Linked DNA regions of Homo sapiens: all the other regions are linked to region 1. The links are contacts of gene promoters, found by promoter capture Hi-C in human tissues and cell types (Jung and others, 2019). All regions are on one chromosome and are shown on one strand. Each heading gives the region's core, a stretch centred on a gene start or on the middle of the fragment in contact. The rest is flanking DNA. Distances are from core to core; before and after follow the strand shown.

Evidence for each region. The method cuts DNA at HindIII sites, captures the fragments that hold promoters and counts their contacts. A contact is called where the count stands out against the background at its distance.
Region 2: a contact is called between the fragment with the promoter of GNG13 here and the fragment with the promoter of PTX4 in region 1, in 2 of the 25 tissues and cell types used here (dorsolateral prefrontal cortex and lymphoblastoid cells).
Region 3: a fragment that was not itself captured here is called in contact with the fragment with the promoter of PTX4 in region 1 in 1 of the 25 tissues and cell types used here (spleen).
Region 4: the fragment with the promoter of NTHL1 here is called in contact with the fragment with the promoter of PTX4 in region 1 in 1 of the 25 tissues and cell types used here (spleen).
Region 5: a fragment that was not itself captured here is called in contact with the fragment with the promoter of PTX4 in region 1 in 2 of the 25 tissues and cell types used here (mesenchymal stem cells and spleen).

Annotation. Positions count from the first base shown.
Region 1 is chr16:1,486,098-1,492,179 of GRCh38, reverse strand. It overlaps PTX4 (pentraxin 4), which reads left to right and starts at 3,236. Exons shown (of 3, transcript NM_001328608.2): 1 at 3,236-3,411; 2 at 4,210-4,864; 3 at 5,601-6,082. The coding sequence starts at 3,271. The HindIII fragment of the contact is 5,905 bases long and covers 1-3,867 here.
Region 2 is chr16:796,874-802,955 of GRCh38, reverse strand. It overlaps GNG13 (G protein subunit gamma 13), which reads left to right and starts at 2,222. Exons shown (of 3, transcript NM_016541.3): 1 at 2,222-2,290; 2 at 3,845-3,976; 3 at 4,132-4,915. The coding sequence starts at 3,879. The coding sequence ends at 4,237. CHTF18 (chromosome transmission fidelity factor 18) reads right to left here. Exons shown (of 22, transcript NM_022092.3): 20 at 5,864-5,995; 21 at 5,205-5,262; 22 at 4,882-5,117. The coding sequence ends at 4,981. RefSeq lists enhancers at 1-66, 884-1,433, 1,434-1,983, 1,984-2,533. The HindIII fragment of the contact is 13,916 bases long and covers 470-6,082 here.
Region 3 is chr16:2,161,337-2,167,418 of GRCh38, reverse strand. It overlaps TRAF7 (TNF receptor associated factor 7), which reads right to left. Exons shown (of 21, transcript NM_032271.3): 2 at 3,418-3,536; 3 at 1,483-1,540. The coding sequence starts at 3,498. Among named protein-coding and RNA genes, the nearest start is that of TRAF7, 8.6 kb to the right of the region's middle. RefSeq lists enhancers at 1,492-2,264, 2,265-3,038, 3,448-3,947, 3,948-4,449. The HindIII fragment of the contact is 6,093 bases long and covers 1-5,298 here.
Region 4 is chr16:2,044,992-2,050,191 of GRCh38, reverse strand. It overlaps NTHL1 (nth like DNA glycosylase 1), which reads left to right and starts at 2,358. Exons shown (of 6, transcript NM_002528.7): 1 at 2,358-2,483; 2 at 3,826-4,064. The coding sequence starts at 2,369. It overlaps TSC2 (TSC complex subunit 2), which reads right to left and starts at 2,207. Exons shown (of 42, transcript NM_000548.5): 1 at 2,127-2,207; 2 at 1,439-1,605. The coding sequence starts at 1,576. RefSeq lists a silencer at 1,944-2,173 and enhancers at 2,264-2,353, 2,804-2,863, 2,455-2,954. The HindIII fragment of the contact is 27,107 bases long and covers 1-5,200 here.
Region 5 is chr16:971,582-977,663 of GRCh38, reverse strand. LOC124903620 (a long non-coding RNA gene) reads right to left here and starts at 3,595. Exons shown (of 2, transcript XR_007064935.1): 1 at 3,053-3,595; 2 at 1,906-2,323. It overlaps CEROX1 (cytoplasmic endogenous regulator of oxidative phosphorylation 1), which reads left to right. Exons shown (of 3, transcript NR_164343.1): 3 at 571-1,903. It also overlaps a transcript of LMF1 not described here. RefSeq lists an enhancer at 4,511-5,501. The HindIII fragment of the contact is 4,224 bases long and covers 1,512-5,735 here.

The DNA of each region.
Region 1 (6,082 bases), core at 1,987-4,486:
TCAAAATAAAAAACCGGTAGGGTAAGAAAATAAGAGCCAGTGGCCGGGCACAGTGGTTCACACCTCTAATCCCAGCACTTAGGGAGGCCGAGACGGGTGGGTCACAAGCTCAGGAGTTCGAGACCAGCCTGGCCAACATGGTGAAACCCCGTCTCTCCTAAAAAAAGAATAATAATAATAATAATAGTAATACAAAAATTAGTTGGGCGTGGTGGCATGTGTCTGTGATCCCAGCTACTTGGGAGGCTGAGGCAGGAGAATTGCTTGAACCCAGGAGGCAGAGGTTGCAATGAGTGGAGATTGTGCCATTGAACTCCAGCCTGGGTGACAGAGCGAGACTCCTCCAAAAAAAAAAAAAAAGAAAAGAGCCAGAGAGCAGTGGGTGCTGTCTTACGTAAGGTGAGAGCTCTGAACAGAACACCTTAGAGCAGAGCCCTGAATGTGTTGACAGCCAGGGAAGAGTCTCACTGGCAGGAAAACGGCAGGTGCAAAGGCCTGAGGCCGCAACTGTTGCCCGGGAGGTGGAGCCGAGGGAGGCATATGCAGGGGTGAGGCCTGGAGGGAGTGAGGCAGTGGGCCAGGCCACAGAAGGCCCTCGCAGGGACTAAGATTTTGCTTGTGTGGCAGGCATCTCCTGGAGCCATTGAAGGCACGGGTCCATGCTGGTGCAGTTAGGAGAGCAGACGGTAGGGGGGCGACACGGACGAGGGGACTAGGTGGCCATTGTGAGGATGAGCTTGGGGCGGAATGGGGGTGTAGAGAAGCAGCTGAACTCAGGGCATGTCTCTGCAGGCAGAGCTGATGGATGGGATATGGGGCAGGCAGCATCCCATCATCCCGGAAACTCCTCCTCCGTCCGCTGCTGGGTTCCAGCCCTCGCCAGTGCCCACGGCAGCTCCGTCCTTCCCTATTCCCTTCTTTTCCTGAAGCCCCGCATCCAACAGTGGGTGCTTGGAGGACAAATTTCTCAAGCCTTTGTGTGTCTGAAAATGTCTTTATTCTTTGCTCTGTCACCCAGGCTGGAGTGTAGTGGCGCGATTTCAGCTCACTGCAACCTCCTTCTCCCCGGCTCAGGCGATCCTCCCGCCTTAGCCTTCCAAGTAGCTGGGACTGCAGGTGCACACCACCACGTCTGGCTGATTTTTGTAATTTTAGTAGAGACGGGGTTTTGCCATGTTGCCCAGCCTGGTCTCGATCTCCTGGACTCAAGTGATCTGCCCACCTTGACCTCACAAAGTGCTGGGATTACAGGAGAGAGCCACCACACCCTGCCCCGACCCACAACTTTAAATGGAAATCAGGCAGGCTCAGTGGCTCACGCCAGTAAACCCAGCACTTTGGCTAGGCTGAGCTGGGAGGATTGCTTGAGCCCAGGAGTGTTTGAGAACAGCCTGGCAACATAGCAAGACCCTTCTCTACCGAAATAAAATAAATACATAAATAAATGGAACTCACTGTCAGTTGGAAGCTGCGAGATCCGCCGCTCTGTGTGTGGCACCAGCGTCGCTGTCCTGGTGGCTGCCAGTCCCCCGGGGCCTAAGGCCCCAACCCCGTCCATGTGCCCAGGATGTTCTCTCCGATGCTTTCTGCATCTTCTCCATGTCCATGGTGTTCTGACGCTTGACAAGGGGAGCCTGGGGGCCACCGATGGTTTCCTGGCCTGGCACCCTCTTGGCTCATGCCACCTTGGGAATGATGGATGCCCCCAGTGGGACAACTTTGTGGATGATCTTATTCCCATGAGCTGGGCGGCTTGAAACAACAGAAATGAGTCCTATCACAGTTCTGGGGGCTGGAAGTCTTGAAGTGAAGGTGCACACTCCCTCGAAGGCTCTGGGCTGGGGGTTCCCACTTTACCTCTTCCAGCTTCTGGGGCCTCTGGGGGTTCCTCGTGGCAGCGTCACCCCAGTCTCTGCCCCATCTTCACAGGCCGTGTCCTCTGTGCCTCCTCCTCTGTCTCTTGTACCCCTGTCATTGGCTTTAGGGCCACCTGGATAATCCAGGATGGTCTCATCTCAAAATCCTTCATGACATCCGCAGAGACCTTTTCCACATAAGGCCCTGCCTGGGGCTTATGTGTGTTTTTAGGAGGGTCTCATTCAAGCCAGTACACAACCTGTAACCAAAAATACCAGCCTGGCCCACATGGGGCAACCCCGTCTCTACTACAAATACAAAAATTGGCCGGGCGCGGTGGCTCATGCCTGTAATCCCAGCATTTCGGGAGGCTACAGCGGGTGGATCACCTGAGGTCGGGAGTTTGAGACCAGCCTGGCCCACATGGTGAAACCCCGTCTCTACTAAAAATACAAAAATTAGCCGGATGTGGGGGCACATACCTGTAATCCCAGCTACTTGGGAGGCTGAGACAGGAGAATCCGTTAAACCCAGGAGGCGGAGCTTGTGGTGAGCGGAGATCGCACCACTGCACTCCAGCCTGGGTGACAGAGCAAGACTCCGTCAAAAAAATTAATTAATTGGCCAGGCGCAGTGGCTCATGCCTGTAATCCGAACACTTAGGGAGGCTGAGGCAGGCAAATCATGAGGTCAGAAGTTTGAGACCAGCCTGACCAACATAGTGAAACCCCATCTCTACTAAAAATACTAAAATTAGCCGGGCATGGTAAAGCACGCCTGTAATCCCAGCTCCTCAGGAGGCAGGAGGCTGAGGAAGGAGAATCGCTTGAGCCGGGGAGGCAGAGGTTGCAGTGAGCTGAGATTGCGCCATTGCACTCTAGCCTAGGCAACAGAACGAGACTCCATCTCAAATAATAATAATAATTAATTAATTAAGGTGGCTCCCAGTCACATTTCCATTGCTTTACTGAGAGAGACGGGGCCTCCCAGGATGCAGCCGTGCACGGCCTGGGTGATGGGTGCCTGTGCAGACCTGGCTCTGTTGACTCCCCAGCCCCCGTCGGGTTCCCTGTCTTGCTTCGACTTCTCGGGAGCACAAGTCCATGTGCTCCTGTTAAAGCCATCGCCTCCTGCCCGCGGGCTTGCACCCAGCTGAATGATTCTTCAAAGAAACTGTTTGCATCTGTTTTAAGCTTGTCTCCTTAGGAACCTGCAAGTCTCAGAGCCCACTGGCTTGAAGGCAGATGCCTTTCATGGAGGCGGCAGGAAGAACCTGACATCCAGCCAGGGCCAAAGAAGGAAAACCACTCAACAGGAGAGCTGGGGGGACGAGACACAAGACAGACCCACGGAGCCACCTTCACCCTCTCCTGCGGCTGGAGGGAGACTGCTGGGGCCTTGCCGTCTCTCCGGATGGGTTGCTCGTGGAGGAAGACCTTGTCTTTCTTCCTTGTTTTTGTGCCTATATATCTACATGGGGCTTCATCGCAGGAAGCCGCCCCAGTGGGGCCCAGGAAACCGTTTTTCGAGAGGCTCCGTAGGCTGGAGGAACAGGCAAGTTATACCCCTGACATGGCGCAGTCGGGTTTTTAAATTGGCAGCAGATGGAAGACGGATGTTACAGAAGCAGATTGGTAAACATCAGGGCTTGGCGGACACGAACACCGCGTGTGACGCTCTTTCCATCCATGAAGATTATTTCACCTGCAGTTGGACACCAGGGAAGAGCTGAGCTGGGCTCCACTCACACAGGACACAAGCCTCATAACATGTGGGGGTCAGGTGGGGCCAGAGGCTAGAAGGGGGTCTGGAAGGGAGTCAGGGGAACTGGGGGCCATGGGGGCCGGGTAGTGTCATGGGGAGTGGAAACTGGGAGGTCACAGGTCCACCTTGTGGCAGTCGGTGTGAACGGCCTCCCGGACTCCCACGCGGGGTCCACGGACAGTTCCGGAGTGCTGTGGGCCTGTCGGGCCTGCGCTGGGTGCTTCCTGTTTGGGCCTCGTAAAGCACTCATGAGGCCACCCTGCCGTCCCCTGCTCACAGGCAGGAGCTGGAATCACGAGGGAAAGTGACTTGCCGGTGGTTATGGGGTGAGCGGTGGGGATCAGAGCCCCAGCTGTGGGCCTGGAGTCCACACCCCACGTGGTGCAGCTGCATGGCCTGGGGTCAGTCCCTGGCACCCACCACATCTCACGGCATCGCAGTGGGGATCAAATCGGTGGGCAGATAGCCAGTGCTGGCCGTGGCCCGGGCACGCGGCCGCTGCTCCCAACTTGAGAGGGCAAAGCCTTTCCCGTCCCGCCCAGCCGGCCCGGCCCGGCCCGCCCCATCATCACCGTGTCCTCCTTACAGTTCCGGAGATTCCAGGAGGTGACCTGGACACACCTGCAGAACATCGCCAGCAACTACAACGTGTCCTACAACGTTGACGTCCGGTTCCGGAGCCTGGCGGAAGAGAGCCAGGCTGTGGCTCAGGCAGTCAACCGGTCACAGGCCTCGGTGCAGGGGGAGCTGGCGCAGCTCAAGGCCTGGGTGAGGAAGCTGCAGCGCCGAGGCCGGAAAGTAGACACGCGGCTGCGGGCCTTGGACCTCACCCTGGGCGAGAGGAGCCAGCAGCGGGCCCGGGAAAGGAAGGCACACAAGGCCCAGAGGGACGCCCTGCAGGACTCACTGGCACGCCTGGAGGGCCTCGTCCACAGCCAGGGCGCCAGGCTGGCTGCTCTGGAGGGGCGGCTGCCCGTGGCCCACCCTGGCACTGCAGCCCTCGGGCCGGCCCTGGTCCCAACCCCAACCCAGCCTGAGGAGCTGGGCCCGACCTCCCTGAAGCTTCAGAGGGACAGGCAGGAGCTCCGAGCTGCCTCTGAGCACAGGGGCCCCCCACAGGACTCCTCGGCCCCTCTCCAAGGGAGGCGGGAGCCTCCAGCCTCAGGCAGCCATCGGGTACTCAGTGGGACTGCCCCAAAAGACCCTCGGCAGCAGGCATGGTCCCCCCAGGTGCCAGGAGAGAGTAAGTACCACAGGCTCCCAGCTCACGGCCAGGCTTCCCTCCAGCTCCTCCTTAGACCAGGCCCCCTGGAAAAGGCTTCTCAAAAGAGGTTCAGTTAGGGGCCGGGAGATGGGGAGAGGGTCTCGGATCATCGGGGGGGGTGGCCCACCGTCATCACAGAGGCTTTCTAAGGGGAGGCAGGAGGAACACAGTCAGAGGAGGGCGTGAGGGCAGAAGCAGAGGTGGCGGGATGCACAGACGAGGAGGCCCCACGCCGAAGGGTGCAGGCGCCTCTGGAAGCTGGAAAGGGCGGGAGATGGTTTCTCCTGGAGCCTCCAGAGGAACCAGCCCTGTCCACACCTGATTTGAGCCCTGGGAGACCGTGTTGGCCTTGTGACCGCCAGAAATGTGAAACACTAAACCTGCGCTGTTGTGAGTCATGAAATTTGCAGAGACTCCCTGGCAGTGAGGGGCGCTGGCTCAGCTGGGTGGGCCGACAGCTAGGGCTCCTAGCAGGACCCCGCCACTCCCGAGTACGGCCCTCATGTTCAGTCTTCCCGCCTGTGGAACTGGGGTGATCCCATCAAGAGAGTGAAGGAGACGCTGCAGGGGAGCCATCGGCAGGGCCAGCGCAGAGTCAGTGCTCCGTGAAGGGTGGCAGCCGGGAGTGGGAGGCCAGGCACCCACAGCACGTGTGCTTCTGGATGCTTCTGCTCGGCCTCCTGCAAGGGGTTGACCCTCCCTCCTCTGTTTCTAGTTTGCGGCGTGGGCCCCACCCTCGTTTTCCCAAACGCCTCCACCAGGAACGTGGTCTTCCTCAGCCCTGGTTTCGTCACTGCCCTGCGAGCCCTGTCCTTCTGCAGCTGGGTCCGCACGGCCTCCGGCCGCCTGGGCACCCTCCTGTCCTACGCCACCGAGGACAATGACAACAAGCTGGTGCTGCACGGCCGAGACTCCCTGCTGCCCGGATCCATCCACTTCGTGATCGGGGACCCGGCCTTCAGGGAGCTGCCCTTGCAGCTGCTGCTGGACGGCCAGTGGCACCACATCTGTGTCATCTGGACGTCCACCCAGGGCAGGTACTGGCTCCACGTGGATCGCAGGCTGGTGGCCACCGGCTCCCGCTTCAGGGAGGGCTATGAGATCCCCCCCGGAGGGTCCCTCGTGCTGGGCCAGGAACAAGACAGCGTGGGGGGCGGATTCGACAGCTCCGAGGCCTTCGTGGGGAGCATGTCTGGC
Region 2 (6,082 bases), core at 973-3,472, 690 kb after region 1:
AGCACAGGACCTGCTTCTGATTCTGGGGGTCCACACGACACCGAGGCTGACTGGTGCCCCCCCAGCGACCAGAAACGCCACAGAAGTGGGGTGAGAGACGGGACCCACATCACATGCCTGGGACATGGGCCTGCAGCAGACCCAAAACCCTCAGCTTGCCCTGGCCCTGCCCCCACTTCCCTCAACCTCCTCCTGCCCTTGGCCTTGGGGGTCACCCAGACCCTGCTCAGGTAGGCAGGCCGGGTCCACCATGCAGGTACACACAGCCACTTCTCTGCTGAGATGCTGAGGACTGGCAGGACCTGCCCGGACCACAGGGCAGTGCTCACTCCAGGACGTGACCCCACGGCCCGTCTCACCTGTCCTGGTGGCCCACACCACACTCCAACCTGTGTCCTGATTCACTGGGGGCACTGGCCGTGTTGGACAGAGCTCAGGCACCCTCAGGGACCTTACTGGGTCCAGTGAATTGACCAAAAGCCAGAACCTGGAGCCTTGGCGACCCCATTAGGAGACCTCCTAGGTCCTTCCAGATGAGCAGATGCAAAGGCCGCTTGGGGTCCTGAGAGTGGCCACAGAACCCCCAGCTCTCACAACTCAGCTGCGGACCTCAGGGTGTTCCCCCGCCTGGCCCTGGCTCCAAGCCACCTGCTGTCCCAGGGAACGTGGGGGACATGCCCTGGGGTCCCCCCCGCCTTGCCTGCATCCTGGGGTGGCACACACCCCTCCCCTAACAGCCATTCCACTCTCTGGCGCCCAAAGTGGTGCCCCCAGCCACAGGGAGAGCCCTCAGCAGCCCAGAAACTAAGGTGCATCCGAAGTCACAGCACCAGGGGGCACAGGCAGGGCAGGGCGGGCACTGGGATCAGGGAGACGTCTAGCCCCCACCATGCCAAGAGGGGCAACCATCTGCCCTGAGGAGGAGGCCTCGTGCCCTGGGCTTTAAGCTGCCCCACCCCACCCCCAAATCCATAATAAAAATAATCCCTTCCCTAATGTGCCCCAGTTCCAGAGGCGCCTCTGATCCAGCCGACACACATCAGGGCGGGAGGTGCAGGTGGCCCCGATTCACGGAGTCACACTGGCAGGGAGTCCTGCTGAGTGACTTCAGGGACCTGAGCGCCTGAGAGGGACAGGGCCCACCTCTCCCCGACAACCCCTGCAGAGGTCTGGGCCACCCCAGGCAGGCCGGGCGGTTCCCTGTGACACTGGGGAAGGCAGAGTGACCTGCTCACAGGCCCCTGGCCCTGCCAGCACCCACCGAGGGCCTGGCCCACGCTTCCCCGGGGGTGGCCCAGCTTCTGCAGGGACTGTTTGGGGAGCTTGGCCCTGTGCCCCCAGAGGCTGCTGTTGCTGCCTGGGCGCCCCCACCTAGGATGCAGCCTGGTATGTACGTCACCTGCTGGTACATAGGGCACAGCTCCCACAGGAGCCCAAGGGGTACACCCAAGGGCAGGGTGGGAGGAGACACGGGGAAACGTGTCAGAGGAAAAGGGGCCAGTCTCAGCTCTGCAGGCTGACAGGTGCGGAGCCCCAAAGGGAAGCCCTCTCCCCAGAGCCTTGAGGTCACACAACCCGAGCCCAAGTGCTGCAGCTGGGGGCACCTCTCCCGAGGCAGCGTGCCCCAGAGCACCCACAGTGGACCGGTGTTGGGGACGCCTCAGGCCGCCACTCTCAGCTCAGATCAGACTGAAAAGCACGGCACTCTCCTGCCCTCGGGAGCTGCCCCGTGCCGGCCACTGGTCTGGGAACAGGGGATCGGGCTGGAGCAGGGAGCTCCACAGAGCCCCGGGGCCCCTAGCAGTAAGAGGCTCACATCCCAGGGTGAGCCACATGGCCCACACAGGATGCCTCTGTCAGGGGGGCACAGCTGAGTGTCACCTGAACCCTGCAGGCTGCAGAGGCTTCAGAGGGCAAAGGGTCCCAGCCCCATCCCCACTCCTCCCGGCTGGCCCAGGACACTGGAGGGGGAACCCACCCCCTCAAGTGGAAGGAGACCTCTCCACCAGGGCCCAAGCTGGCCCCTCAGGGAAAATGGACCAGCCCCACACTGGCCCCTGGCTGCATGTCCATCCGCTGGGTGAGCCCAGGGGAGGGGGCAGCACAGGCTATCTCTGGGGTCAGCCCAGCCCTGAGGAGGGTGTGGGGGCGGCGCCAGGGCCCAGGTGGCGGGAGGGGCGGGGCACAGCCAGGGCTCTGCCTGGCGGACTCCCGGAACATCACTTGGCCCTCGCTCTCACTCGCGGTCGCCTGGCCGTTGTCATTGTCCCTCCGCTGTCACCTTTTCAAGGTAGGTCCGATGAACAGGCGCCCGGGGCTAGGGAGGGCCCGGAGGCCCCTCGACTCTCAGCTGGCCCAGGTCAGTCCCCTGGGCTCACCCTAACTCCCGGGGCGAGGGCAGCTGCCCCGCAGGCAGCAAAACCCAACCCGAGCCGGTGCTGCAGGCAGGGAGGCGGCTCTCGCGGTGCGGGGGAGCTGTGTCCATCTGAGCGCCGTGCGCCGCCTGCAGTGCCCACCGAGTCCCGTGGCTGGGGGCGTCCACGGGGTGCACGGGGTGGGTGGCCAGGCTTGGCGGCAGCTGCGCGAAGGTAGGGCTGGGCAGCAAGGACTGGGCTGTGGGCGGGGCGCCAACACCCCGGGCCTGGGAGGACCCGCACGCAGCTAGTCCTGCGCCCACGGGGCTGAGTGTAGGGTCTCCGAGAAAAGGCCTGCACCGGGGATGGGGGCGGGTAGGGGTGCTGGAACTCCAGAGTCTCCGGGAGGGAATCCTCTGCATGACCCTGATCACTCCCCCAGAAACCTGCCCCCGCTCGCTCCCCGGCCTCCCACCCCACTACGGGCAGACCCTCTGCTGGCTGCTGGGAGTCTGCCCAATTCACCACCGGGACCCCACCAGCCTCAGGCCCTGGGCCCCTCCCTAGGTGGCCGGTGCAGCTGCACGACCAAAGGATGGGGAGACTGTTGGGCCAGGAGCCCCCTTCACAGCCAGAGGCAGGCTCCCCGAAACTTGACGCCAACCCCCACCCACCCTCCCAAGGTTCAGCCCTGTCTCCCAACCTTGGGGACGGGGGCCAGAGTTGGGACGGAGTGAGGGACTCCCTGGGCCCCTGGAGTGGGTAGGGGGAGAGGCAGGGGGCAACCCACCCCCACTTGCCTCGAACTTGTGGCAGTTCTGAGGGGTGTCAACCTGTGGCTTTCCCAGGCTGGCCACAAGCAGAAAGCACGCAGGTAACGTGTGTGGTTCCCAGACACACTGGGGACCCAGGGGCCACCCACAGCCCATATCCCAGACTCGGGTAGTATAGCCTGAGCCCCCAAGATCCTGAGCACACACCCCACCTGCCAGAGAAGCAAACTGCAGCAGAACATTCCTGTCCAGGAGTCCTGGCTCTGGACTGGGCTCTGCCATGCAAAGCAAAGGGGCACACAGCGGGGCGGGGCAGGGGCCACCTCCTGAGGACCTCGCCCCACACCTCACACCGTGGTCTGGGTCAGCCTGCGTGGGCCTCAGTGGGAGGGTAGGAGCTGGGGGCCTGCCGTGCTGAGCACCCTTTCTCCTGCCTGCAAGGGATCTTCGTAAGGTGTGGGGGCCTATGGGGGAGTAGCTGAGGATGTAAAGTTTCTTGCAGTTAATTAGTCCCAGTGCAGGAGGCGGGAGCTGGGGCCTTGTGGGAACTCGCTCTGTGCCCTGCACCCTAGCAACGCCTAGGGGACTGGCCCAGGCAGTGGTGTGGACTCTCCCCGCTTCATCCTGCGGGGTTCAGCTCAGGCCTGCGGGGAGCAGCGGGGGTGGGGACTACAGGCTGGTGGCCTCGGCCCTGTGGCTTCCTCCTGTGCCCTCCAGCCCCAGGCTGGCTGCTTCAGAAGCCCCTGACCCCATGGAGGAGTGGGACGTGCCACAGATGAAGAAAGAGGTGGAGAGCCTCAAGTACCAGCTGGCCTTCCAGCGGGAGATGGCGTCCAAGACCATCCCCGAGTGAGTGCCCCACCTGCCTGATTTGCCTCTCATTTGTCTGCCCTGCGCTGGCTGCTCATTTCCATAGCCACGACCACCGCCGCCGACAGGCAGGTGCAGCAGGAGGCCCTCGGGGGTCAGGTGCCACCACTCACCTGCCACCCGCCCACCCGCAGGCTGCTGAAGTGGATCGAGGACGGGATCCCCAAGGACCCCTTCCTGAACCCCGACCTGATGAAGAACAACCCATGGGTGGAAAAGGGCAAATGCACCATCCTGTGAGCCCCGCACCCGGCCCCTCTCACACCATCCTGTGAGACCACGCCCGGCCCCACTCCCACCATCTTGTAAGACTGTGCCCAGCCCCACTCACTCCATCCTGTGAGTCCCACTCCCAGCCCCACTCCCACCATCCTGTGAGCCCATGCCCGGCCCCACTCACACCAACCTGTGAGCCCCACTCCCGGCCCCACTCACTCCATCTTGTAAGACTATGCCCAGCCCCATTCACTCCATCCTGTGAGTCCCACTCCCAGCCCCACTCCCACCATCCTGTGAGCCCCACTTCCAGCCCCACTCCCACCATCCTGTGAGCCCCACTCCCAGCCCCACTCCCACCATCCTGTGAGCCCCACTCCCGGCCCCACTCACTCCATCCTGTGAGCCCCACTCCCAGCCCCACTCACACCAACCTGTGAGCCCCACTCCCGGCCCCACTCACAACATCTTGTAAGACTGTGCCCGGCCCCATTCACTCCATCCTGTGAGACCACGCCCGGCCCCACTCACTCTATCCTGTGAGACCACGCCTGGCCCCACTCCCACCATCCTGTGAGCCCCACTCCTGGCCCCACTCACACCATCCTATGAGCCCACGCCCGGCCCCACTCCCACCATCCTGTGAACCCCACTCCACTCGCACGTGATTACAGTCTGTAAAGGTGTGACTTTATAAAGACATCTCCAGCTTCCTGTCTCTGCACTCTGCGGGAAGCAATGCGAGGGCATGTCCGCGGCTCAGAGAACTAGAGCAAGTCCCTGATGTACAGGCTGCGCCGCACGGCGTTGGAGACACCCTCGTTGAAGCGGAACCAGACCTCGCTCCTGCCCACCGCTGTGCCCATGCGCCGCTCCACTGAGTCCTGCTCCGGGGCCGTGTCCCCTGCGGGGCCACAGGGTTGCTCCTCAGCTGTAAGGCCCCCCCACAACCCCCAGGCCCCCCACAACCCCACAACACCCCCACACACACCTGCACTCGGGACTGCTGTGCTCCTGACGACCACACGTCCAAAGAAGTCCTTCTCAGGCTGATGGGAGGAAGGACTAGTCAGTCGTATAGGACAGATGCCCCATCCAGCCCCTACCCAAGACAGGAGGACCGAGAGCCTTCCCAGGGAGGAGGGACCAGAACACCTCTGAGACACCTTTCGGAACCTGGCCCAGGCCAGCTGCCCCTCACCCCTCACTGCCATCTGCTCCCCACCAGGTGCCAATCAAGAAGAGCCAATACAGCCACTCTTCTGCCCAGATGGGAAACTGAGGCCTGGGTAGAACCCTGGTCATGCTGAGGGTAAGGAGCTGGTCCTTCAGAGCCCCCCTTAGGGCACTGAGCCAGCCCCACCCTCAGCCAGACTCCTCCTGTGGCTCAGCCCCACCCCCAAAGGTACCCTGGCCCCACCCCATGGGTGCCTTGGCCCCACCCCTAAAGATACCCTGGCCCCGCCTCATGACTGCCCTAGCCACAGCCCTGAAGGTACCCTGGCCCTGCCTCATGAGGGGCCCTAGCCACACCCACAAAGGTACCCTGGCCCCACCCCATGGGTGCCTTGGCCCCGCCTCATGACTGCCCTAGCCACACCCCCAAAGGTATGTACCCTGGTCCCACCCCCACAGCTGCCCATTCCACACCTGTTCCTCCCGGGCCGCTCGCCTCATGATGTGCTCCAGCCGCTGCTCATGGTTGCGTGGGGCAGGTCGGTGCACCCCTTTCTCCCCAATGCCCCCCAGCAGACCCTCGAGCCCTGGGGGGCTCCCATCCACCTGTAGGGAGCAGGCATTGTGAGATCTGGCCACACAGGGATACAGTGGGGATGGTGCACGCCCAGACTGCAACCTGCTCCAGAGCCT
Region 3 (6,082 bases), core at 1,003-3,502, 680 kb before region 1:
AGTCCACGTGGGAGGCAGAGAGAGACACCTCCCGGACTCAGGACCAGCCCAGCTCAGATGTCACGATGAGCCCTGGGCTCGAGATTGAGGCCTCGAGAGGCTGCCGTGTGACTGGGCCTCGGTTTCCCCATCTGTCATGAGGGGCCAGGTGAGGTACCTGTGGGCGCCCTGCTGCCTGGCTCTGCCCATCCCTGCCGCCGAGGGGCCAGGCATAGCAGCCGTGCCCTGCCCCATCATGGGTACCTTCCGCCGTGTGACAGGGGCCATGGGGCTTCTAAGGGTAGATGAAAAGGCACCGTTTTTTGGGGGGTAGGATTAGAAAAAAAAAGAGGGCCCCTGGAGAGCCCCTGAGGGGATCACCAGCAGCAAAGAGGCGCTACTGTAAGCAGGTGTCCTTGGCGGCCCTATGACCCCATGGCCAGGTTTATCAGAGCAATTAAAAAGCTAATTAGCAGCCAGTGTGCTTCTACAAAGGGCAGAGTGCCAGAAAGGAGAGAGAACAAAGTCACCCCAGAACCCCACCCCGGAATGAGGGTCCCTGGCCCTGCACCTCGGGAAGAAGGCACTGCCACTTCCGCATGGTCTCCCTGAGCACGGCGCTTGCGTTCAAAGCGCAGCACTCTGGTTTTTAGGGGATAGGACTGAGAAGCAGCAGGGAAGCTTCAGGTTTCTGTCGTGTATCCCGCCCAGTGGTCTTGTGCAGGTGAAGATTTATTGGGCTTGGCTTGCTGGCTCATGCCTGTAATTCCAGCACTTTGGGAGGCCAAGGCAGGAGGATCACGTGAGCCCAGGAATTTGAGACCATCCTGGGCAACATGGTGAGACCTCATCTCTACCAAACATAAAAAAAATTAGCCAGGTGTGGTGGTGCCTGTGGTCCCAGCTACCTGGGAGGCTGAGGTGGCAGGACTGATCCCAGGAGGCACAGGTTGCAGTGAGCCAAGATTGCGCCACTGCATTCCAGCTTGGGTGACAGAGTGACACCCGTCTCAAAAAAACAAACCAGACTTATGGATCTCTTCCACTCTCCCTCCCTTCCTATTAACATGTCACAACTGCAGCACTGTTACTGAAGCCCTAGGGCCAAACTCAAGAGAAGACCTCCGGGCACACGGGACCTTTCGGAGGCTGGCCAGGAGCCTGAGACTGGGGACAAGCTGGGGATCACTGTGACAAGGGACAGGGCTGTGTGGTGGTGCTGGAGATGTCAGGGCAAGCCTCCCTAGAGGGGATGAAGAGGGCAGGGAGAGAGGGCACAGCACAGTCACCGAGGCACAAGGAGCAGGACACCCGACTCCTGTCCAGTGGGGAGGCCCAGGGCTGAGAGGCTGTGAGGACACAGGCTGCGGTGTGAGGCTGCCCGCGCCCAGCACTGGCACCCAACACCAGCTCACCGGGAAGTGTCCCTCAGTCCTTAGCAGGGTGGGCATGGGGGTGCCCCGGTTATTCCCAGCCTGGGCTGGCCTTGGCTTAAGGGCTCACCTTTTGTGATGGTGGTGACGGCTGAAAAGGCGGGTCCGAAGGTCGTTTCCATTCTGGTCTAGAGGGAGGACGGAGGAGACCTGGCCTCATTCCGGGACACAAGGAGGACGTGCACATGTGGAGCCCACTCACATGCCTAACACGCGACCAGGCCAGGCCACGCAGCACTCACACACTTAACCATGCGACCAGGCCACGCCACGCAGCACTCACACGCTTAATCATGCGACCAGGCCGCGCCACGCAGCGCTAACACGCTTAACCATGCGACCAGGCCAGGCCACGCAGCACTCACACGCTTAACCATGCGACCAGGCTGCGCCACACAGCACTCACACGCTTAACCATGCGACCAGGCCAGGCCACGCAGCACTAACACGCTAAACCATGCGACCAGGCCAGGCCACGCAGCACTCACACGTTTAACCATGCGACCAGGCTGCGCCACACAGCACTCACACGCTTAACCATGCGACCAGGCCAGGCCACGCAGCACTAACACGCTTAACCATGCGACCAGGCCAGGCCACGCAGCACTCACACGCTTAACCATGCGACCAGGCCGCGCCACGCAGCACTCACACGCTTAACCATGCGACCAGGCCGCGCCACACAGCACTCACACACTTAACCATGCGACCAGGCCGCGCCACGCAGCACTAACACGCTTAACCATGCGACCAGGCCGCGCCACGTAGCACTAACACGCTTAACCATGCGACCAGGCCAGGCCATGCAGCACTCACACGCTTAACCATGCGACCAGGCCAGGCCACGCAGCACTCACACGCTTCAGCATGCGACCAGGCCAGGCCACGCAGCACTCACACGCTTAACCATGCGACCAGGCCAGGCCATGCAGCACTCACACGCTTCAGCATGCGACCAGGCCAGGCCATGCAGCACTCACACGCTTAACCATGCGACCAGGCCAGGCCACGCAGCACTCACACGCTTAACCATGCGACCAGGCTGCGCCACACAGCACTCACACGCTTAACCATGCGACCAGGCCAGGCCACGCAGCACTAACACGCTTAACCATGCGACCAGGCCAGGCCACGCAGCACTCACACGCTTAACCATGCGACCAGGCTGCGCCACACAGCACTCACACGCTTAACCATGCGACCAGGCCAGGCCACGCAGCACTAACACGCTTAACCATGCGACCAGGCCAGGCCACGCAGCACTCACACGCTTAACCATGCGACCAGGCCGCGCCACGCAGCACTCACACGCTTAACCATGCAACCAGGCCGCGCCACACAGCACTCACACGCTTAACCATGCGACCAGGCCGCGCCACGCAGCACTAACACGCTTAACCATGCGACCAGGCCGCGCCACGTAGCACTAACATGCTTAACCATGCGACCAGGCCAGGCCACGCAGCACTCACACGCTTAACCATGCGACCAGGCCAGGCCACGTAGCACTCACACGCTTAACCATGCGACCAGGCCAGGCCACGCAGCACTAACACGCTTAACCATGCGACCAGGCCAGGCCACGCAGCACTCACACGCTTAACCATGCGACCAGGCCGCACCACGCAGCACTAACACGCTTAACCATGCAACCAGGCCGCGCCACGCAGCACTAACACGCTTTACCATGCGACCAGGCCAGGTCACGCAGCACTCACACGCTTAACCATGCGACCAGGCCGCGCCACGCAGCACTCACACGCTTAACCATGCAACCAGGCCGCGCCACACAGCACTAACACGCCCCAACCACACACGCACGCGTGCGCGCGCGCGCGCGCGCGCGCACACACACACACACACACACCACACCCCCCCCCACCGAGCTCCCCTGAGACCCCAGCTCGGGACGGGACTGCGCTGGGAGCTCTGCAGGCAACACCAGATCCCTGGGGCATGCTGGGGGTCCTGGGGATGTTGGGCTTGCAGAGGGGCACACCCTTACCCCTGTGGTGACGTCTGGGGTGGGAAGATTGCTGGGCCCCCCGGAGAAGCGGTTGTAGCGGGCACTCTTGCCTGAGCTCATGCTCTAGAGAGGCATCTACGGTCCTTGGGAAGCACCTCCTGTGGGTGGAGCACAAATGAGGGGCTTGAGAGATGGAGCCCAGGCCCCTGTGAGTCAGACGGGCTGCTGCAAGTGTGCAGACCTGCTGTGGGGCACCGTGGGGCCGCCGCAGCAGCCTTCCACCACCAGCCCCGGCTCAGGCAGGCCTCTAGGAGGCAAAGGTCCTTCACCCCGATCCCAGGTATGCAGAGGCCCGGGCAGGCAGGCGGCTCTGCGTCACCGTCCCTCAAGGCTTAGCCTTTCTGAGCTCCCGAAGAGCCCATCCAGCTCTTCCCCGAGGTGGAGGGACCCCTGCCTGGCTCCCTCTACTCCTCTGGGTCCTGAGTCACAGCCAGTCACCTCCAGGCTGAATGTCCCTGGGGCCAAGGCTGGGCCTTGGTGGGTAGGCCCAGGGTGTGGCCCACGTGGCGGGACGCAGTCACACAGGGACCAGCCAAGGCACGACGAATGTGTTTCCTGCCACGACAGGTGCGGTCAGGACCCAGCCAGCACCAGGCTGCAGCGGGGAGACACCAGCCACACCCCAGAGAAAGAACCTGCAGGGTGAGTCACCGGAGCCCAACTCCACACAAACCGCACTGCACGGAAAAAAGCACAGGAGAGAGATGAGCCCGCCCCTGGAACCCGTGCAGGTCACCCACACTCCCAGCCACGCCACAGGGGCTCAGGGGCTGGTGGGTGGGGGGGCAGGGAGAAGGCATGCGGGAATCACCCTCCCCAGAAGAGAGGGGCTGGTGGGCCTGGGGGAGACGTGGCCCCTCCGTGGGTGCTGGGAGTGCTGGCCAGGCCCAGGGACACCAGTAGGGGAAGGTAAACATTAGAGAGAAAAAGAGACCCAGCCAACAGGTCACACCCAGGACAGAGCCCGGGGAAGGGGCTGTCCATGCTGGATGACGCCCACTCTCCCCCCGTGAGGCACCAGGCTCTGTCAGCAGGCGCCCCTCCTCCCGAGCAGGTCCCACTTTCAGGACTTGGGCAGCCTGGAAGCCAGGAGCCTGGCAGAATGCAGCTGGGACAGCCCTGTCTCCTGCTGGCAGCGGATAGCGCAGCCGAGCCCCGGCTTGAAGCTGAGCTCCCTGTGGGGAGGAAGGCCACGTGCCCAGGACTCCTGCCCCGGGCCCACCTGCACTGTCCACCTCGAGGCCCATGCGCAGCACCCCATGAGGACACACCATGGGCTCAGCTCCCAAGGCAGGAGCCCTCAGAACAAGCTTGCTCTGGGGGCGGTGCAGCAGCAGGGAGCCCACTCCTGCGGCCCTGCTCTCACCCTGGGGAAGCCGGGCTGCAAACCAAGGCCCCAGGGGCCTGAGAGGAGCAGGACAGTCCCAGTCCCAGGCCAAAGTGGCGGAGCTGGTCTCTGCCCCCACCCAGCAGGAGCACAGCTCAGGGGGCATCACTGAGCCCAGCTGGCTCCAGTACCTCCTCCATCAGTCCCTCCTGACTGGGTCCCTTTGGCCATGCCCGCCCTGCATGCGCCTTCAAGATGCCACTCATCACCCACCACCGTGCCCACAGTCTGGCCTGGGGCCCCCCAGCCCGGCCTACAGGTGTGCAGGGAGGGGCTGGCTCTCAAGCCCTTGGTTCCCTGCACCTGAGCTCCTGGGCTGTCTACCACTCCTGCTGTCTCCTCTCCCATTCTCTAGGCTGCCCAGGCCCACCTGTCCCTTCCAATGCCACCTGGAAGGCCACCCACCCTGGAGCCACTCAGCCTTCAGGACTCGGGCTCAACCCGACATCTCAGCCCCTGCAGTTGGCAGCGCCACGAGCTACCTGGCCCCACCTGATCTTTGCGTCCCATGGTCTCGGGAGATGGGGCCTGGCCAAAGCCTCCCTCGGCCTTCCCCAGGCCCCACTGCGACTCGAGGGGCTTGGCCCTGTGTGACCCAGACTAGGCTCTCGGGGGACTTCTCTTGTGGAAGAGGCAGGGGCTCCTGAGTGTGGGCAGTGCCACACACCTGCAGCCAGGCTCAGAGGAGTCAGCCCTGGGACAGAGGTGTGGTCGTGGTGTGTCTACAAGGCTGCTCTGCCCTGGCACATGTCTATCCCGTCTCCAGCAGCTCCCGGCAGGAAGGTCGGGGAGAGCTGGCCAGGGCTTGCCTTTTGCCATTGTGCTTGGGGTGAGGATGTCCCAGCTGGGGTAAGGCCCTGATAGCCTGAAGTGCAGGGCGCCATGACTCGGCACAGGAGGTTCAGCCCTTTTGGGAGCCCCAGGTTGGCTCCTGCCCTCTGGGAGCAGGGAGGGGATCACCGGGCAGCCACTAGGAGACACTGACCTGCATTTTACAAACCCATCAGCTCCCTGTACTGCAAGCTTCCGGGGCCCCAGGGCCAGCTGCAAGCCCTGCCAGTGATGCCTGCCCGGGGGCCCAGGTGGCCAGGACCCCAGCAGGCACTCCCCTGGGATGGGTCGGGCTGGCCTCAGTGCCTGTTGCTCACAGTCTGGGAGAGCAACTGTCTGGCTTCCCCCTCACTCTGAAGTGAGGTGAACAGAAAGGCACGCAGGGCAATGTGCAAATCAGCCAGAAAGTCCCAGCTGGCCAACAGC
Region 4 (5,200 bases), core at 1,109-3,608, 560 kb before region 1:
AGAGGTCAGGAGTTTGAGACCAGCCTGCCCAACATGATGAAACCCTGTCTCTACTAAAAATACAAAAAATTTGCTGGGCGTGGTGGTGGGCGTCTATAATCCCAGCTACTCGGGAGAGTGAGGCAGGAGAATCCCTTGAACCCAGGAGGCGGAGATTGCAGTGAGCCGAGATCGCGCCCCTGCGCTCCAGCCTGGGTGACAAGAGCGAAACTCGGTCTCAAAAAAAAAAAAAAAAAAAGATTTACTGAGGGGCTTTACTGCTCCATCCCGAGGAGTTGAGAATGTGCAATTTTTTTTCACAACTGCAAATGTTGTATTGAGATAAAACATAACATGAAATACAATTTCAAACTGCACAATTTTTTTTTAGACGGAGTTTTGCTCTTCTTCCCCAGGATGGAGTGCAGTGGCGCGATCACGGCTCACTGAAACCTCCGCCTCCCGGGTTCAAGCAATTCTCGTCTCAGCCCCCCGAGTAGCTGGAATTACAGGCGCCCACCACTATGACCGGCTAATTTTTGGTATTTTTAGTAGAGACGGGGTTTCGCCATGTTGGCCAGGCTGGTCTCAAACTCCTGACCTCAGGTGATCCACCCGCCTCGGCCTCCCAAAGTGCTGGGATGACAGGCGTGAGCCACCGCACCCAGCCAGGATGGACTATATTTTATTCATCAGTTGATGAACGTTTTAGTTGTTTCTAAGTAGAAAACTTTACAAGTGCAAAAATTCAGCATTTACTCATGGGCAAAACACAATGCCAGGCATGTGTGACAAAGACACAAACACACATAAAAGATAACGACCTAGCCCATGTGCGATGGCTCATGCCTGTAATCCCAGCACTTTGGGAGGCCAAAGCGGGCAGATCACCTGAGGTCAGCAGTTCAAGACCAGCCTGGCCAAGATAGTGAAACTCCATCTCTACTAAAAATACAAAAATTAAATGGGTGTGGTGGCACGTGTCTGTAGTCCCAGCTACTCAGGAGGCTGAGGCAGGAGAACCACTTGAAACTGGGAGGCAGAGGTAGCAGCGAGCAGAGATTGTGCCACTGCACTCCAGCCTAGGCAACAGAGCAAGACTCAGTCTCAAAAAAAAAATAAAATAAAGAACCTACTTCTCCCAGGAACTCACATCTTATCATGTAACACCTGGACATATCCTTACCTGTGAAGATGATGATACTCAGGCCTCATCTATAAGATGGGCTTTCTTTCATCAACATCTGAATAGTAACTCAAGTGTGCCTGAACCAGGTCACCAAGATCCTGACTTTCGAAGTCTCCTGAGGAAGGACATGTCGGCCTCCAAGTACTGGAGACAGCATTCCTGTGTAGACAGTTGCCAGCAACCCGTCTCCCACAGAACCTGGTGCAAGACCAAACCCAGCCTTCTCTGCATTTCCCTCTAGCCTAGCAAAGACACAGGTAGCTCACTCACTCTCAGTATTTCCGCGGTGATGATAAACTCCGTCTGTTTACCCTCTGCAGACCTGGGATTTGGCCTCGGTGTTCCCAGTCCCAACAGAATCTTAAACTTCTCCTTCAAGCCTGAATCTTTGCTTGTTGGTTTGGCCATGGTGGACCAGGACGCACCAGAAAACCCCTCTGTGCAAACGAAACAGGAATGGGGACATCTGAGCAACACCTCTGCCCACCTTCCCCACTGCGGACCTCCAGCCGTCAGGACCCTGGGTCTCTGGTGGGCATAACCTTTCCTCCCACACTCCCTGGGAGAACTCAACTACAGCCCAGCTGACCAGCTCGCAAACAGGCACCTAGGAAAGCCCGGGAGACACCAGGCCTGGTCTAGAGAGCTCTCTACTCAGACGCTGCCGCCCGCCCCGCCCGACTCAGTGCACGGGTTAGGACTGCCGCCGCGAAGTCCTGGGAGCCCCGACGTTTGCCGTCTCTCCTCTACCCATGTGAAGCAGGAGCTGTCACGGAGCCGCCTGCAGCAGAGACCCGTTCGCACCCGCCATGACTTAAAACTAAGGGATGCTCGGAGCTCCGGAGTCGGGTTGCAGTGGGCGCGGGTGAGGGCCCGGGACCCGGACACTGCGGGGTCCGCCTCTCTAGGCCGCTGCCCCGTGGGGACCGCCACTTGCCCCGTGGGGACCGCCACTTACCCCGCGCCGCGCCACCGCGCTCCGGGCCGCCCCGACGCGGAGAAAGGCGCACCCCCCTGGCCCCGGGACGCCGCCGGAAGCGCGACCCGCACTTCCGGTAGCGGCATTGCGCGGAGGGCCGCCTTGGGAGCTTGCTGGGAGTTGTAGTTCTGTGCCGCCCTCTGGCGGAAAGGCCGGCGATCCTTGCATCACGTGACGGGGCCGCATGGGCCGCCGGGATGTGTAGTCCGCAGGAGTCCGGCATGACCGCCTTGAGCGCGAGGATGCTGACCCGGAGCCGGAGCCTGGGACCCGGGGCTGGGCCGCGGGGGTGTAGGGAGGAGCCCGGGCCTCTCCGGAGAAGAGAGGCTGCAGCAGGTAGCGCCGCGCCGTGGCTGGAGCGTGGGAGGAGGCGGGATAGGGGCTGCAGGCTGGAGTCCCGGGCCGCCTCCTGCGGCTCCCAGCTGCGCGGGCAGGGGCTGCAAACCCGGCAGCCGCGAACGGTTCCCACGTGCGGCCCTGCGTTCCCACCTTGCGCCTTTTTCCCAAAGATTGCGGTCCGCAGGGGCTGGGTTTCGGGCGCTCCGCTCCGCTGCCCCCTTTCGCCCCAAGCAAGAAAACGCTTCCTTTCCCACCACTCTGTCCGGGACTCTCCACTCCAGGCTCTGTGGGTCCCATCCCCGCCCTCCTGCAGTGAACTTGCTGTCCTCGGAGAGGCTGGGTGCCAAGGACACACGCAGCCAGAAGCCTGCTCCCCCAGCTCGGGGGAGGGTGCCTCTGAGGGAAAACAGGAAAGGGCATGGCACTTATTATATTTATCCTGCAGCCGTTGAGGACCTGCTGGGGGCCAAGCACTGCAGTGAGCAGTGAGGGACACGGACAGGGCCTCTGCGCTAGTCCCGCTGGGACTTCTGCAGAATTGGCCAGAGCTGGATTCCCATAGGCACCCAGGGACCCCAGGGGTAGTCCAGACTATGTCAGGAGGAACTGGTGCAGCTGGGAGCAGGCAGGTGGTGATGCCAGCCAGGGTGGCAGGAGCTTTGATGCCAGGATAGAGTTTGGAGTTTATTATGACAGTAAACGGAAGTCAATTAGGAGGTTTTGTTGTTTGTTTTGAGATCGGGTCTTGCTCTGTCACCCAGGCTGTAGTGGAGTGTTGTGATCTCAGCTCACTGCAACCTCCGCCCCCCAGGTTCAAGCAGTTCTCCTGCCTCAGCCTCCCAAGTAGCTGAGACTATAGGCCCCTGCCACCACACCCGGCTAACTTTTGTATTTTTAGTAGAGATGGGGTTTTGCCATATTGGCCAGGCTGGTCTTGAACTCCTGACCTCAAGTGATCCACCCACCTCGGCCTCCCAAAGTGCTGGGATTACAGGCTTGATCCACCGCGCCCGGCCGGCCAGGATTTTTTAAAAGGGAGTGACACAACCTGATGTGGGTGTTAGCAGACTGTCTCTGGTGCAGTATAGAAGATGTATTGGGGGCACCTTGGTACAGGCTGTTGCTAGAGTCCTCATGAGCTAACATGGACCTTGTCAGGGTCGCTGGCATAAGGAGGGCCCACATACCCCAGACTGCAGAGGGCAGAGCACCCCAAGTGTATTAGATGATGGACAGTTGTGGCATGAACGAGTGAGGGGTGAGCTAGCAGGCGGGATGGCACCCCTACCCTACCTTCACCTGTGGCCCCACCAGAGGGACTGCGTGGTGCTTTTTGCAGAAGCGAGGAAAAGCCACAGCCCCGTGAAGCGTCCGCGGAAAGCACAGAGACTGCGTGTGGCCTATGAGGGCTCGGACAGTGAGAAAGGTGAGGGGGCTGAGCCCCTCAAGGTGCCAGTCTGGGAGCCCCAGGACTGGCAGCAACAGCTGGTCAACATCCGTGCCATGAGGAACAAAAAGGATGCACCTGTGGACCATCTGGGGACTGAGCACTGCTATGACTCCAGTGCCCCCCCAAAGGTAGGCAGGGGCCCCATCTGCCCAGATGACCCCCCATCTTAGCAAGGTCCTTGTTTTCTTTCTACCCGGTGGCTTTTGGCTGGCACCCTCCCCTGCAGACAGCACCTTGGGAGGATGGACACCCGGTGCCCCAGAGCATCGCCTGCATCACTGTAGCCACTCAGCAGGTCAGGACACCAGTGGTTTAGGGCCTCGTGCTCGAACTTCTGCCCAGTGCAGGCGTGACCTGGGCTTTGTGTGATATCAGGAAGGAAGAGTTCCTTTTGCTTCACGGTCCCAGGGCCTGAAACCCTTAGACCAAGCTGAGTTCTAATCCCTATTCTGCTACCAGGTGGCTTGGATACAGGCCTCTCTGAGCCTCAGTTTGCTTGTCTGTAAAATGGGTAGTATGGGCCAGGCATGGTGGTTCAGGCCTGTAATCCCAGCACTTCGGGAGGCCAAGGCGGGTGGATCACCTGAGGTCAGGAGTTCGAGACCAGCCTGGCCAATGTGGCGAAACCACGTCTCTACTAAAAATACAAAAATTAGCCAGGTGTGGTGGCAGGCACCTGTAACCCCAGCTACTTAGGAGGGCGAGGCAGGAAAATCGCTTGAACCCCGGAGGCGGAGGTTGCAGTGAGCCAAGATGGCACCACCACACTTCAGCCTGGGTGAAAGAGTGATACTGCATCTCAAAAAAAAAAATTTGTTTTAAAGGGTAGTGTGATGATTCACGAAGCAATCATAATAGTAGTGGCCAATGGCTGTTCAGTAGTGATGGGCCAGATACGATCGTGTTGGGTTTTTTTTTGAGACCAAGTCTTGCTCTTGTTGCCCAGGCTGGAGTGCAGTGGTGAAATCTTAGCTCACTGCAACCTTCGCCTCCGAGGTTCAAATTATTCTCCTGCCTCGGCCTCCCGAGTAGCTGGGATTACAGGCATGCACCACCGCACCCAGCTAATGTTTGTATTTTTAGTAGAGACGGGGTTTCACCACGTTGATCAGGCTGGTCTCAAACTCCTGACTTCAGGTGATCCGCCTGCCTTGGCCTCCCGAAGTGCTGGGATGACGGGTGCGAGCCACCACGCCCGGCCACATACGATTCTAAGCACTGAGATAATTCATTTAAGCTTCACATTACTCCAGTGAGTCAGGTA
Region 5 (6,082 bases), core at 2,374-4,873, 510 kb after region 1:
TCCTCCTGCGGCAGGCAGCCCATCTTTTGTGCGGCCTCTGAGAAGCACAGGGAGGGCCCGGCGGGCGTGAACCCGCTGGCAGCCGGTGTGTGCACAGCCTTGGCCCGGGCCTCCCAGCCCCTGCATCCCGAGCACCCGTGGGGCAGTTGGCAGCGTCCTGGCACGGCCTGGGAGATTAATTGGTGCTTTTAATGACGGCTGGTCTGGCAGAGACAGAGTGACTACAGGCTGGGCCGGCGCAGGCTGTGAGCAGAGGCTGGGAAAGGCCCCGCCCCCGGACGGGTCTCCAGGGGAGAGGAGGGGTTCGCAGGACCCCTCTCAAGACCCCCTTCGGGAGTCAGCTTCTTGGCCACGCACACTTGGAGCTCTGGGCTGGGTTGCAGCTCCCTGTACTTCACTGTCTCGGGTGCTGGCAGTGCCAGCTGGGGCACGAGTTCCGGTTTGGGTCAAGGCTGGCCTGTTGGCTGGGGTGGCGTCTGCCTGAGAACTGGCCTTGTCTGTGCCTTAAGCTTCCTGGCGCTCACAGGGCAGTGGAAAACCACTCAGTGAGTCTTTCTTGGCACCTTGCAGGAGCAGTGCTTTCTGGGCCTCTGTAGCCAGAGCTGGCCCTGCTGCAGCTTACGTCTGCCTGCAGCCCAGACGTCCTCCTGGTCCTCCTGATGCCCCCGACCTCCACGGAGGACGAGCATTTCCAGCCCAGCCCTCCCCATCTTCACCTCGCACTCCCCTGACACACTGGGAGCCTCCTGATCCGTGAACCCGCGCTGGCGGGAGTAGCTACTGACCGCTGGGGACCCCTGCCCAGGCTGTTCGCATGTGGAAAGGATTCAGGGAGCAGGCGATGCCCAAAGCGTGGAGACCAGCACTGCTCTCTCCCCAGTGACAGGTGCACGCCCAGATCACGGATGTGTCGGGAACAGCTGTGCTCCTGCTGCTCAGCGTCCGTCACTCCAGGCTGGGAGCGGGTCCCCAAGCTTCTGGCTGGGCCTATCCGTCTCCACTCTCAGTGTGGGGGTGGGGGGCGCCAACAGCACGCATTTGCTCTCTGCACTTCTCGTCTGATAATGGGCAGAGGGTCCTTCTGCAGCCCCAAAACATCCCTAGGCAGGAGCCCTGGGGCCCCAAGCAGCCAGGGAGGTGAGCACCAAGGACCTCCCAGAGAGCGTCACCTTCCGTCGAGGGAGGCCCAGCCTGGGGGCGGTGTCTGAGACTTGGAATCAACGCTTCCGTTGGTGGCAGTAAATCCTGTCCCTAACCCTGCAGTACAGCTGTGCCGTGTACAGGAGGGTGCTGTCTGACGCCAGACACCTGGACTACAGATCGCAGCCTGATTCCTGGTCATTGCTCCACTGAACCCCAGACCCCAGCCTCGTTCTGGGCCCTCATCCCCTAGATCCAGGGACCCCAGCCCCATTTCAGCCCTTGGGCCCTTGTAGGATGCGAGGCCCTGGGCCCCAGCCCCCAGCCCATCCGTGGCCCAGGCACTGGGGGGCTGAGGTCCTCTGAGAAGGGACACAGGGCCTGGGGGGCTCTCTCAGCCCATCAGCAGGAGAGGACTGACTCCAGAAAAATCAGCGTTTGTACCCACTCAGGCTGCCAAGACCTGTGTCCGTCCTTCCAAGCTCAACCTTCAGAGTTCATGAGGCCCCTTGCCCAGAATGTCCACAGAGTTCATGAGGCCCCTTGCCCGGAATGTCCACATTTGAAACCTCCCAACACCGAGCCCCATTTCAAGTATAACCAGGAGGGAAAATGGTGCTTGAAATAAGCATGCCACAAAGGAAAACCTGCTTTCTCGAAATGGGCCCTGGCCGCCCAGGCCCTGACCTCCCCGGCCAGGATGGAACGTTCCAGAGACCCATTAGTGCCAAAGGCAAATGAAAACACACCCTGTGAAAATGTCTCTGCTGTCTCCCAAGTATTTATTTTTCTGAGCGTGGGGAAGGAAGGCTTAATTAAGATGCCCTCAGGCGGGTACGAGGGGCAAAGTGGGAGCAGGGAGCGTGCTTCCTCTGTGGCCTTGGTTCAGACAACAGCCTTCAGCAAAGCTTTGCTCTAGAGGCTCATAGGAAGGGACAGAGGGCACAGGCCCAGCTCAGCCTTTCCCCTGCCTTTCTTGGGGCCTGGGCATGGACAGCACCGCCTGGCGACACACAACGGTGGGCTCTGAGGCTGTTTGTTACGCAGCATTAATGTGGCCGTCGGTGACCGCTACACGGTGACTGATAACTGCACTGTGGGTAGAGCTCAGCCCGCAGGGCTCTGGTTTGTGACCTCTGGGCCAGGCAACTCTCAAGGCTTCTTCCAGTGCAGAATATGATTCCTAGAGAAAAAAAAAAAATTACACATTCGTTTCCTAACATAGGGCCCTGCAACCGGAGAACACCACCACATTGGGAGCTGTGCTTTCCACTGTCTAGAAACCATGGCTTGCCAGCTTGCAGGGTCACATGGAGCCGCATCTCCTTCTGGGGTGCAGGGGTGGGAACACTCGTGACCTGTAGCCGAGGGTGCAGGGAGAGGACAGGGTGAGCCAAGCAGAACAGCCGTCTGTGAGTCATCGTCCCAGGACAACCAGCAAATGGCACAACACCTGCTCTCTCAGCCCCCACCCGCACCTGCCAGCCTCACGTGGGGGGTGGGGGGGTTGGCCGCTGGACAGTCACAGCAGGATCTGCCCAAACTGACCACCCTTCCAGGAGGAGGCAACAGATGTTAGCATCCACGGGTCCTGGGCCCCCCTTCCATACCCAGACTTCAGGACATGAAAAATTGGGGTAAATGAAGGGTGCACGATTATCTTCGGGCCCACACTGGCTTCCTGCGGGTGCCAGAGACAGCTGCCACCGCATGCCAGGGACAATGGCCCCGAGGAGGCGGGAGCTGCCAGGCCGGGGTGCTGGGGGACAGCTGGACGAGGTGCCGACAGGGGCTCATTCCTCCCTGAAGCCGGCCCGCAGCTGCTGGGAGCGTGGCCAGCCACGGGCTTGTGTGTGCCTGGGTCCTGGGGGCTGTGCTGGCGCAGGCCGGGACGGCGGGGACAGGGTCCCACCTAGGGCAGGCTGGTCGGTCTCCGGGGAGGCAGCCCAGTCTTCAGCCTGCGTGCTCTTGGGGTGTCCGTCCCTTCCTCCCCATTCTCCTCCTCTTCTCAGCGTCTTCTCCCCCAGCACCGGGCAGCCCTGGGGTGGCCGAGCCTCATCTCCACTCCCCTCCCTCAGGCCTCTCCTGGGTCAGCCTGGCTTTTTCTCTTAGAGTTTTTGCTTGACAGGGCACTCTCAGGACGCCCTCCTCCTCCTCCCGCCTCGGGTTGGTGTGAGGCGCTCAGGGCAGGGCCCACGTGCCTGTGGTCACAGGACACTGAGCTGCAGGGTGAAAGGACCACACCTGGCCGATCTCCCGGCCGCTGCAGCTCACTCTGGGTTTGCAGAGAAGCCTGTTTTTAAGTGAAGTGCCTTCTTAGAGAATAAGACACACCTGTATCTAAATGTTATTTTTAAACTGCTAGATGCGCCTTAATATAGACAAAGAAGTAAGGTGAGCGTAAATGACATGATGTATTCCGACAGGTGACAGCGCCTTCCGGGCGATTCTGAAACACCAGTGCAGGGCTGTCTGTTGTCTTTTGTTTTCATTTTACTTTTTTTTTTTTTTTTTGAGACAGAGTCTCGCTCTGTCGCCCAGGCTGGAGGGCAGTGGCACGATCTCGGCTCACTGCAAGCTCCAGCCCCCGCGTTCACGTCATTCTCCTGCCTCAGCCTCCCGAGTAGCTGGGACTACAGGCGCCCGCCACCATGCCCGGCTAATTTTGTTGTTGTTGTTGTATTTTTAGTAGAGACGGGGTTTCACCGTGTTAGCCAGGATGGTCTCGATCTCCTGACCTCGTGATCCACCCGCCTCGGCCTCCCAAAGTGCTGGGATTACAGGCGTGAGCCCCGGTGCCCGGCCTCATTTTACTTTTCTAAAATTCGAGGCGAAATTCACATAGCATGAAATAAGCCATTTGCCAGTGAACGACTCGGTGTTTAGCACCTCACAGTGCTGGGCAGCCATCGCCTAGTTCCAGAAGATTCTCATCAGCCCAAAAGAAAACGTCCTACCCCCGGACCACTGGCTCCCCACTCCCCGTCCCCAGACCTGGACCACAGAGCTCCCTCCTTTCCCCGTGGCTTTGCCCACCCCGGACATTTCATGTAAATGGGCTCACGCAACTCATGACCTCCGCGTCTGTCCTGTCCCACTGAGCTTGATGTTCTGAGGTTCATCTGTGTTGTAGCACGTGTCAGAACTGGATTCCTTTTTATTTTATGTTTTATTTTAGTGAGACAGAGTCTCGCTCTGTGGCCCAGGCTGGAGTGCAGTGGCGCGATCTAGGCTCACTGCAACCTCCACCTCCCGGGTTCAAGCGATTCTCCTGTCACAGTCTCCCGAGTAGCTGGGATTACAGGTGCCCGCCACCACACCTGGCTAATTTTTTTGTATTTTTAGTAGAGGCGGGGTTTCACCATGTTGGCCAGGCTGGTCTTGAACTCCTGACCTCAGGTGATCCACCTGCCTCGGCCTCCCAAAGTGCTGGGATGACAGGCGCCCGGCTCCTGGATTCTTTTTGATGGCTGAATCATAACCCAGTGCACTTTTGATTAAATTCAGGCTGAAATGGGCACGACCAGAGCTGCTGGTCCACCTCTCCCCGGCCCAAGCCCTGCCCCCGGTGACCTGCTCTGGAGCCATTCTGGGCAGTGGATGGGACCCCTGCGGTCAGCGTCTCAAGAGAGCAGACCCTGAGGGAAACTTGAGCTCAGAGAGAACAGGAGCTCCCAGCAGACCCTTCCGCTGACTGCTCCCACCCTGGGCAAATGCAGAGCCGGAGCCCGGAGCGCTGGAAGCTGGAACAAGAGGCCCTTTTCTGCTCTGCACAATGCCCCATTGTGCCCTTCGCGGGGAGAGCAGCTCGGCCCAGCGAGGGGAAGCTGTGCACAAAGCCTCCTTGTGAGGGCAGCCCCACCTGAGGACAGCGCAGGGCCACACCTGACGCAGGGCAGTCCCTCTCGCCGTCCGTCCCCTAGCAGGCCTGGCACCCAGACAGGGCCCGCTCTGCAGGCGTGGTCCCAGGGTGTGGGGCTCCCTGTTCCCCACAGATGAGGGGAACAGTGTGGGCTGTGCCGGCCCTTCCTAAGCTGGCCCCCAGGTCACGAGGAGAGGTACGGGTCGTGGGCTCTGTGGAGGGACTTGGGTGCCGGGCGCCAGCCAGGGCCGATGCCTCCTGCGATCCCCAAGGCTCCGAGCCCTCAGGCACACACCACGCTCCCGGAGGCTGGGCCAGCATGCGGAGGATGTTTGTGTGTTCGTACCCGTTGCAACATCTTTAACAGGGTCCCATTTCACAGCTGGGCTCCTAAGGGGGGTTTCATAGAAAAGAAATGGAAACTAAAAATGAATTAAACCATAAGATGTACACGTATGCTACGGCCCCAGCAACACAGGGAAGGTGGAGGCTGAGAGGAAGCTCGGGCCACTGCTGGTCAGGCCTGGATTTGGGGGCCCGATGTCCACAGTCAGTCCCTGCCCACACAAGGCTCACACTGCAGGTGGTGAAGATATAATTAAACAGGTAATTAAACAAGCAATAAAGACGGGTCATTTGACCAACCCAGTGGCGATAATTGATACGCCAAAACACTAGGAAAGCTAGAGAGGCAAAAGAGAAGAATACATGAAAACAAAAACAAAAAACCAGGACAAATATTTCCAATATACACAAAAGAACAGGATTTTTCATACGTAAAGAGTGCTGACAAATGAATAAGGAGAAATCTGCACTTCCACCTAAGTGCCCCACAGTTTATTCACTAACCCCTAGGTCTCCAATGCCTACTCTAGCCTCACGCCCTTTCTTTCCTCTAAGGAATGCCTGTGACCCCAGCCCTTCCTAGCACCCGCTTCACATCAGCCTCCAGAACCCCGCTCCAGTCATCAGAGTGTAGAGTGCTGGCGTCCTCCTTCATGTTCTGTTTGGGGCATTGGGCAGTTAGCCCTTCCCTCCTGAGTCCTGAGTCCCCCTCTTCCCCCACAGCTTGAAGTCCAG